Linked DNA regions of Homo sapiens: region 1 is linked to region 2. The links are contacts of gene promoters, found by promoter capture Hi-C in human tissues and cell types (Jung and others, 2019). All regions are on one chromosome and are shown on one strand. The core of a region is centred on a gene start or on the middle of the fragment in contact, and the rest is flanking DNA. Distances in the headings are between cores, read along the strand shown.

What was found. Contacts are between HindIII fragments. The study calls those that stand out against the background at their distance.
Region 1: a fragment that was not itself captured here is called in contact with the fragment with the promoter of TAF1L in region 2 in 2 of the 25 tissues and cell types used here (dorsolateral prefrontal cortex and lymphoblastoid cells).

The regions. Positions count from the first base shown.
Region 1 is chr9:32,716,033-32,720,331 of GRCh38, forward strand. The region is part of intron 4 of LOC105376017 (a long non-coding RNA gene); the gene reads right to left. Among named protein-coding and RNA genes, the nearest start is that of TMEM215, 65 kb to the right of the region's middle. The HindIII fragment of the contact is 3,870 bases long and covers 1,058-4,299 here.
Region 2 is chr9:32,634,303-32,638,760 of GRCh38, forward strand. It overlaps TAF1L (TATA-box binding protein associated factor 1 like), which reads right to left and starts at 1,367. Exons shown (of 1, transcript NM_153809.2): 1 at 1-1,367. The coding sequence starts at 1,277. The HindIII fragment of the contact is 9,470 bases long and covers 1-4,458 here.

The sequences.
Region 1 (4,299 bases), core at 1,743-4,242, 83 kb after region 2:
AATACTATGCAGCCATAAAAAATGATGAGTTCATGTCCTTTGTAGGGACATGGATGAAATTGGAAATCATCATTCTCAGTAAACTATCGCAAGAACAAAAAACCAAACACCGCATATTCTCACTCATAGGTGGGAATTGAACAATGAGATCACATGGACACAGGAAGGGGAATATCACATTCCAGGGACTGTGGTGGGGTGGGGGGAGGGGGGAGGGATAGCACTGGGAGATATACCTAATGCTAGATGACAAGTTAGTGGGTGCAGCGCACCAGCATGGCACATGTATACATATGTAACTAACCTGCACAATGTGCACATGTACCCTAAAACAAAATATGATAAAAAAATAAAAAATAAAACAGTAAAATAAAATGGGGAGGCATGAATAATCCACCCCTTGTTTAGCATATCATCAAGAAATAACCATAAAAATGGATAACCAGCAGCCTTTGGGCTGCTCTGTCTATGGAGTAGCCATTCTTTTATTCCTTTACTTTCTCAATAAACTTGCTTTCACTTTATTCCATGGACTTGCACCAAGTTCTTGCACAAAATCCAAGAACTGTCTCTTGGGGTCTGGATCTGGACCCTTTCCTGTAACAACCACATACAGATAATAGTTTGTGAACTATGTTCAATTTCTATTAGAGTAACTGTAAGGCAAGACCTCTTTCTGCTGCACTCAAAAAACCTGCCGGAATATGCATGTGGGGGACATTATTGTAGGGTAATTTTGAATCTGCCCTAATTGACAAAGAAAAAATGGAAACCTCTAACAAACTTTCATACTCTATTGATAACGCAGTACTTTTAACAAAACAAGTAGTCACCTGGTTAAGAACTGCCAGCCTAAGAGGTTGTGACCACTAAAATTTGTCCAACCAGAAGTGGAGTCTACAAAACTCTACAGGCTAGCGTGCCTAGAGCATGCTCAGTAATCCACCCCCAAAATCTCAGCCACGTGGCATTTACCTTTGTGTTTCTGACTATCCCATGGGCAATCAGAGGTCCACAGACAACCAAAGGTTAAAATGAGATGGATGTTACATGTCACACACTGCCTGGGGGAGTGCTTGCAAGTTGCACAAAGCAACTGGAACTTCACTATGTCACTCCCTCATCTGAACTACTTGCTGAGACAGCTCTTTTTGTAAAGGGTCATTTCTGTCCGGCAGCTGAGCTCTGGGACAGAAATGATGTTTGGCAATACCAGCCTCTAGCAATGAAGCCAACTTTAAATCAGAAATGCTGTGAGAGTGTGGGATGCCAGATTGTGTTTTACAGAGGCTGGAAAGCTCCAATCTTGCCTGGCAAGGCTGTCAGAAGGATCTCTCCAACTCTTTGGTTTTCACAGCCTCTGGAGCTGAGCTAGCTGCTCACTACACATTTTCATGACCATCGAGTCCCTGTGAATGGAAGTGTTCTATTTCATACTGTGGGTTTTGGTGTGAATTCTAGATCGCAGCTTAGGTTAAACTACAAAACATGGGTGTTTCTGTGGGACACCAGAGGCACTGGAGATAATTTGGGTGAATACACAGAAATCTGTGGAAGAGTAGGATTTGGTCTTTGTCAAACGGTCTAGAGTGGCTGTGCCTTGTTCTTTATCTTATAAAGAAATCAATGCATACTTTACTGCCACCAACGCCCCTTCCTTCATATCACCAAAGTCATTCTTCTACTATTCAGAAAAAAGGGATATTGTTGCTGCTTAGTTGTAAGGGTTCATGGCAGCAAACATTCTTCAGAAGAGATCTATAACTTTCTGGATGCTGCTGCCCCCGTCTCGTTGCTATGGTTAGAGTACATGCTGCTTCTGTCTTCTAACCTTCTTACGCAGCACTGTGGCCATCACTCATTGGTACTATTCATGCTCCTGCAAATTAAAGCACAGGTGCTGCCCTCCTCTCAGGGTGCTTCCTATAAAACTGAGCAAAATGAGTATTCATCCTGATGCATTCAAAAAATATTTACTGAACACTGATATGTGCTTGTCTGGTATCTCAAGCTGATTTGCTTTATCTGAAAAGCGTCTAGTTTACAGATGGATTAGCTTTCCCTTGTATTATTTGCCAAATATTCTAAATAAATAATATAAAGGCAGAGATGCTGTAAAAATTATAAAAATGAAGGTGTCATATCTCAGGATTCTATAGTCAGCCCTTTATCCTTTCTCTTCTCACTCTACACTCCTCCTTGGAATGTAAAATACCCTTTAATGATTATAATTAGCCCCTAAAGTCTCTATCATCAGTCCATACATGACTGCTGAATTTCATACCTATATGTGCAACTACTAACCAGTCATCTTCAGAAGTCAGGCAAGAAATTAGATTCATGACATTCCCAAACCAGAATTCATCGTTTGGCAAAGCTCCCACCCCCCCTTCTCCACCCCTCTCCTCCACCGCTTTCCCTCCCAAATCACCTGCTTCCCTCCATGGGCTCCAGGTTTTAGCTGGTGGCACCGCCCATCAGAAACACTGCTGTCCCATTGGATTCCTTTTCCTTCACCCTCCACATTAAATCAGAGAACAAATCCCACTGATTGAACCTCTCAAAGAGTCCTCACAACTCTTTTTTCCCTTTCTTTCCTGCAGCCACCACTGAGGCCTCCGCGCCTCTCACTTGGACTATTTTTCTGATTGGTATCCTCGCCTGCAGTTTAACAGCCTCCAACCAGAAGTGGAGGTTCTGTCCGTGGGATCTAAAACACGACTCTGATCGTGTCACCACCACCCTACGAAAATGCTTCAAGTTTTCCTCATCATCTGGGAAATAAAATCCAGCATCCTTAGAGGGTTCAGATCCTCCCACTCCCCCTGCATTGAACCTGCACTTTAGGCTTACCCAACCCTAGTAATTAGTAGCATCCTATTTCTTGTTGCCATATCTTTGCCTTTGTTTCCACTGCCTGAAATCTTTCCCCACTTCATCCATCTCATAACTTCTTATAATTCAAATAATTCTTATTTGTGCTTTAAAACTCACTCACAGGCAGCCTCTTCCTGGAAGCCTTTTCTGACTTACCTGCTCCTTGTTGTTTCTGCATCTTATATGCCAATTTTCTATTGTTCTATTTTGTTTTGTTTTGCTTTGTTTTTATATGAGACAGGGTCCTGCTCTGTTGCCCAGGCTGGAGTGCAGTGGCACGAGCTCAGCCTCAACCTCCTGGGGCTCAAGCAATCCTCCCACCTTGGCCTCCCTAGTAGTTGGGACTACAGGCACATACCAGTACACCTGGCTAATTTTATTTTTTGTAAAGACGATGTCTCACCATGTGGCCCAGGGTGCTCAAACTCCTGGGAGCAATCCTCCGGGATTATAGGTGTGTGCCACCACACCCAGCCTTCTATTGTTCTTATCCCCCAATTGTCACTGGGGATCCCCTATTACACCATGAGCTTCCTGAGGGCAAGGATTATTTCTCTCTGCCTCCTCTGTTCTGGGTACTGTGCCTGGCACATGGTACAAGCAAATGAGTCTTTGTAGGTATAAATAGATAGATGCTCTCAACTAGACTCCAAAGTGTGTGTGTGTTGGGCGGGGGTGGTGGGCGGGAGAAAGAGAAAAAGAGAGGACAGAAGGGAGGGAGAGGGATTTAAAAAAAAAATCAACAGTTTTTCTAGTTCTTTAAAAATGGAGGCTTAGATTCACCTCTGAGGGAACATTGTTTCTTGTGTCTGGAAAACTTTAATGACCCCTTATGCAAACATGAGGCTATCATCTTCAATTGCAATGGAAAGTTTTTAGAGGCAATCAGGGCTCAACTGCTCTGCATGGAACGTAAGGGTAGTCTTTATTGATGATACAGAGGCATTCCCAGGATTACTATACTACTGGGAGACTGGCGGTAGACTGAGATGAGGAGAAATGGAGTGTTCCCCTGGGTGTTAGTGGAGTGGGGCTCTGGATCTGTGATAGGCAGGAACTCGTAAAAGCACTCCTATTGTAGGGAAGCAAATGAGCCCCTGCAAGGCCTCAGGCTGGTTGTGAGGGGATCCAGCACCAGGAGGTGTTCCCTGTGGAAGAGCATGACCAGAGGACCAGAGAAAAGACACACGTGGTGTCCAGTTTTACGGCACCCTGACTGTGTCATTCCTCCTGTTACCCCATTCTTCAGTAAAGCTTTTTTAAATGTACCAGCCCCATCTTGGTTGAGATTTGGGTAATTAATACAGCAACCAGTGTCCACTGTCACTGAATCAACACAAAGACTACCAATGTAGTCTCAAATTGAAGCTGAGTTTATTACGCACCAGGCAAAGGAGAATTAAGTTTCTTTCTTTTTCCTTT
Region 2 (4,458 bases), core at 117-2,616:
TGTGTCACCATCAGGAAGTTTTCGTCAGCCAGAAGATCAGTGCCATTGCTTTCCTCAAGTTTCCTAAATTCCTCCATCATTCTAGATTTTATCACAGGTTCATGTTGTGTCTTTCTCAGTTTGAAGCCATAGTCAAACCCACTGCCATCTTCGGAGACACCCAGCATATCATACCACAGTCGGGCAGGCCCATAACGCCACTCAGCCACTCTTGGTTTGGTATCTGTCACTTTATCTACATCTCCAGTTGATTGGGAAAATTTGGACTCCACAGGAACCATCATCGTGATTTCATCATCAGCGAGACACTGCTCTGGGGGTGGTGGTGGAGCATAGTCATAGTTCCACAAAGACTTCTGGCTGACTTCTGATTCTACTGAGCATTCCACCTCCTGGATCTGCTCTTCCTGTATCAGCTCACGATGCTTCTTCCTCTTTCTCCGAGCACTCCGCCAAACAGATGGGACATTCTTCCCTGGTCCAAAAAGATGTAGGAAGCGTAACACTTTTCCAGGTCGAAATTCTGGAAAAAGTTCGGTGACACTTGGCAACAGCTTGGTGGCATCATGCTGCATAATCCCAGCCAATGGAAGGGTCAGCTTTCCATCCTCAGATTCTGCCTGTGTTGCTTCCTGAGGTCCCATCTCAGATTCTGAATCAGAGTAACTACTGAAATCCACTTTCTCTGAGGCCAAAAAGGAAGGGGCAATGATGGAGGGCAAGATGATGTCTTCTCCACTTTCAGACACACAGGTAATAGCATCTTGGTCCTTATCCTTCTTCATTGGTCCCGGGGGTGGAGGTGGAGGAGGCATCAACTTGCAATCAATGTCTTCACAATCAGCATCATAGTCATCTTCATCATAATCCGAGTGGTAAAGGGGCTGCAAGCTCCCCATCGTCTGCTGGTGTCTTTGGCTTTCATCTTCTGCCACCTCATTGATGTCTGAATAGTCTACAGCATCTTCTGTACTCCTAATCCACCCTTCATCATTTACCAAGGCACCGCCAGTCCCAGTCAATTCTTCATTTGCCGTGAGTTCAGTGATTAGGCTGCCCAGCCCCAAAGCCCCCAAGCCTGCCAAGTGCTTCTTACACTCATCATCCAAGACGCTTTCCCCCTCCAGCTGCCCCGCTCCACTGATGTTGCCGAAAAGGATACCCGCTAAAGTAAATGGGCCACCTCCAGATGAATCTTCCTCGCTGTCCGAGTCTGACATGATGGCGGCAGTGACGGTAGCTGCTGCCCTCAGCAGCAAATCGCAGCCGGGTCGCATAAACCGGAAATAAAACAACAGTCGCCCGGAAGTGATCTACTTAGCTCCCTTACCCTACCAGCGTCTACCGGAAGCTGAATAAAGGCGGGGGGAGGGGGCAAAGGGGCGGGGGGAAAAACCCGCAAAACTTTTTTTTTTTTTTTTTTTTGAGACGGAGTCTCGCAACGTCGCCCAGGCTGGAGTGCAGTGGCGCGATCTTGGCTCACTGCAAGCTCTGCCTTCTGGGTTCACGCCATTCTCCTGCCTCAGCCTCCTGAGTAGCTGGGACTACAGGCGCTCGCCACCACGCCTGGCTAATTTTTTTTTTTTTGTATTTTCAGTAGAGACGGGGTTTCACCATGTTAGCCTCTCGATCTCCTGACCTCGTGAACCGCCTGCCTCGGCCTCCCAAAGTGCTGGGATTACAGGCGTAAGCCACCGCGCCCAGCCTGTTTGCTGGTTTTTGAGACAAAGTCTTGCTCTGTCGCCCCAGGCTGGCGTGCAGTGGCACAATCTCGGCTCACTGAAACCTCCACCTCAGGAGTTCAAGAGATTCCTGCCTCAGCCTCCACAGTAGCTGGGATTACAGGCATGAGCCACCATGCCTGGCTAATTTTTTGTATTTTTAGTGGAGACAAGATTTCACCATATTGGCCAGGCTAGTCTTAAACTCCTGACCTCAGATGGTCAGCCCGTCTCTGTCTCCGAAAGTGCTGGGATTACAGGCGTGAGCCACTGCACCCAGCCTCTGTAAATCTCTTTATACATGAACTGCATATGTATGCTTCTCCAAATAATCTATAGCATTGTCATGCTTTACAATTTTGTATAAAAGGCATCTTACTGTGTGTACTCGTTTTTTTTTTCCCCCTTCCTTTTTTTTAAGAGATGGGATCTCACTATGTTAGCCAAGCTGGTCTTAAACTCCTCCTGGCCTCAAGCAATCCTCCCACTTTGGCCTCCCAAAGTGCTGAGATTACAGGCAAGAGCCACCAAACCCGACCTTACTGTATGTACTCTTAGCCAGAATGTTTTCTGGATAAAATTTATGTTTATGATATTCAACTATGTTGATGCATTCAATTCTATTTTTATAGCTCTATAGTGTTCTACAGTATGGTTATGCTACAATTTATCTATGTTCCTATGTTTGTTCATTTAAATTGTTCCCAAATTGTTCCTCTTATAAATAATGTATATGATTCCTTGAGCATATGTAGGACACATTCTCCAGGGTATACATCTAGGAGTGGAATTACTAGATTTTACAATATATGCTTTTTCAACTACACTTGCTATTACTAAATTGTTCTCCAAAGTAGTTGTACCATTTTACATACCTAACAGCAGTGTATAAAAGTTCTCACCTCTCCACATCCATTCTAACACTTAGCATTGTCATTTGTTAATTTTTGTTCATTTCTAATAAATGTATAATGATAATGTGGTTTTAATTTGTATTTTTCTGATTGCTACTGAAGGCTAACTTTTCATACACTTATTGACCAACTGTTTTTCCTCTTCTGTCAATTGCCTTTTCATATATTTTTATCTAATTTTTATAGTATCTTTAGGTTATCTGTCTTTTCTTTAATGTATAACAGTTCTTCATATATTATGGATTTGCTTGCAAATAACTTCCCCAGTCTGTGACATGTCTTTTAATCTATTTTAATGGTGTCTTTAATATATATTTTAAAATTTCAATCTTATCAAATTTTTCCTTTATGCTTTTTTTTTTTTTTTGAGACAGTCTTGCTCTGTTGCCCAGGCTGGAGTGCAGTGGCGCGATCTTGGCTCACTGCAACCTCTGTCTCCAGGTTCAAGTGATTCTTCTGCCTCAGCCTCCCCAAGTAGCTGGGACTAGTCTAGTCAACTGTCTTAATGATTTTCACAATTTGATTGCAGATTATCTTGGGTGGTTGTTTATGTAATCCTCTATAAGTAATCATATTTAAAGTGTTATTATTTATCATTCTATTTTTAAATACTATCAATTGTGTATGCATGTTTTTATCTCTTCCTTTTAGATAACCAATAGTATTTACTTTTCCACCTTGCTTTTCTTGCTTAAAAATATATCTTGGAGATTACTCTGTAGTAGTTTATAAAGAGATTCCTTCTTATTTTTGATAACTGTAGAGTTATCACTTGGGTGAGTATACCAGCCACCCATTGACAGGTATTTGAGTTGTTTCCAGGCTTTGCTATTTCACACAGTGCTGCAGTGAAAAGTCTTATGTATGCATCCTTTTTTTTTTTTTTTTTTTTTTTTTGGTCAGCACATCTTTGGGATAGATTCCTGCAAGAGGGACTAGTGGGTCAAAGAGTAAATGCAGATATTATTTCATCGGTATTTGCCAAGTTCTATTCCTTAGTTGTTGAACCATTTTTCATTCCTAACAGCAATGAATGAGAGGGACAGTTTCCCCAAGCCTCAACAACATAGCATGCTGTCAAATTTTTGAATTTTTGCTGATCTCATAGGTATAAGACAGTATCTCGCTGTAGTTTTAATTTCATTTATCTTATCATGGATGACATGGAGTATCTTTTCAACCAAGGGGAATTTGCATTTATTTTTCCTGTGTATTTGTTCATATCTCTTATTCATTTTTCTAAGGTTGTTAGTCCTTTCTCCTCTTTTTAAATAAGATTTTAATATGTTAGGGATATTTACCCTTTCTGTAATATAAATTGAAAGTATTTTGCCAGTTCATCACTTATTTTTTCATATCACTGTATATTTTACCTTTCTTATTAAAATATTTGTTCTCTGGACAAAGAAGTCTATGTTGGTAGTTTTTTATTTCTTTCAATATCATGAAGTTATCTTTCCATTGACCTCTGGTTTTCACTTGTACTGGCTTTTCGCATCAGCTGTTGATCAGATTGGTGCTTTTTTGTTGGTAATCTGTCCTTTTCCTTTTGTTATATTTAAGATTTTCTCCTTGCATTTCATTTTCTACAGTTTCACTACATGTTTCTGGAGGCAGATTTATTTTCTTTTTTTTCTTTCTTTCTTTTCTTTTTTTGTTTTTAGACAGAGTCTCACTCTGTCACCCAGGCTGGAGTGCAGTGGTACAATCTTGGCTCACTGCAACCTTCACCCACGGGGTTCAAGCAGTTCTCCTGCCTCAGCCTCCCTAGTAGCTGGGACCACAGGCATGTGCCACCATGCCAGGCTGGTCTCGAATTCCTG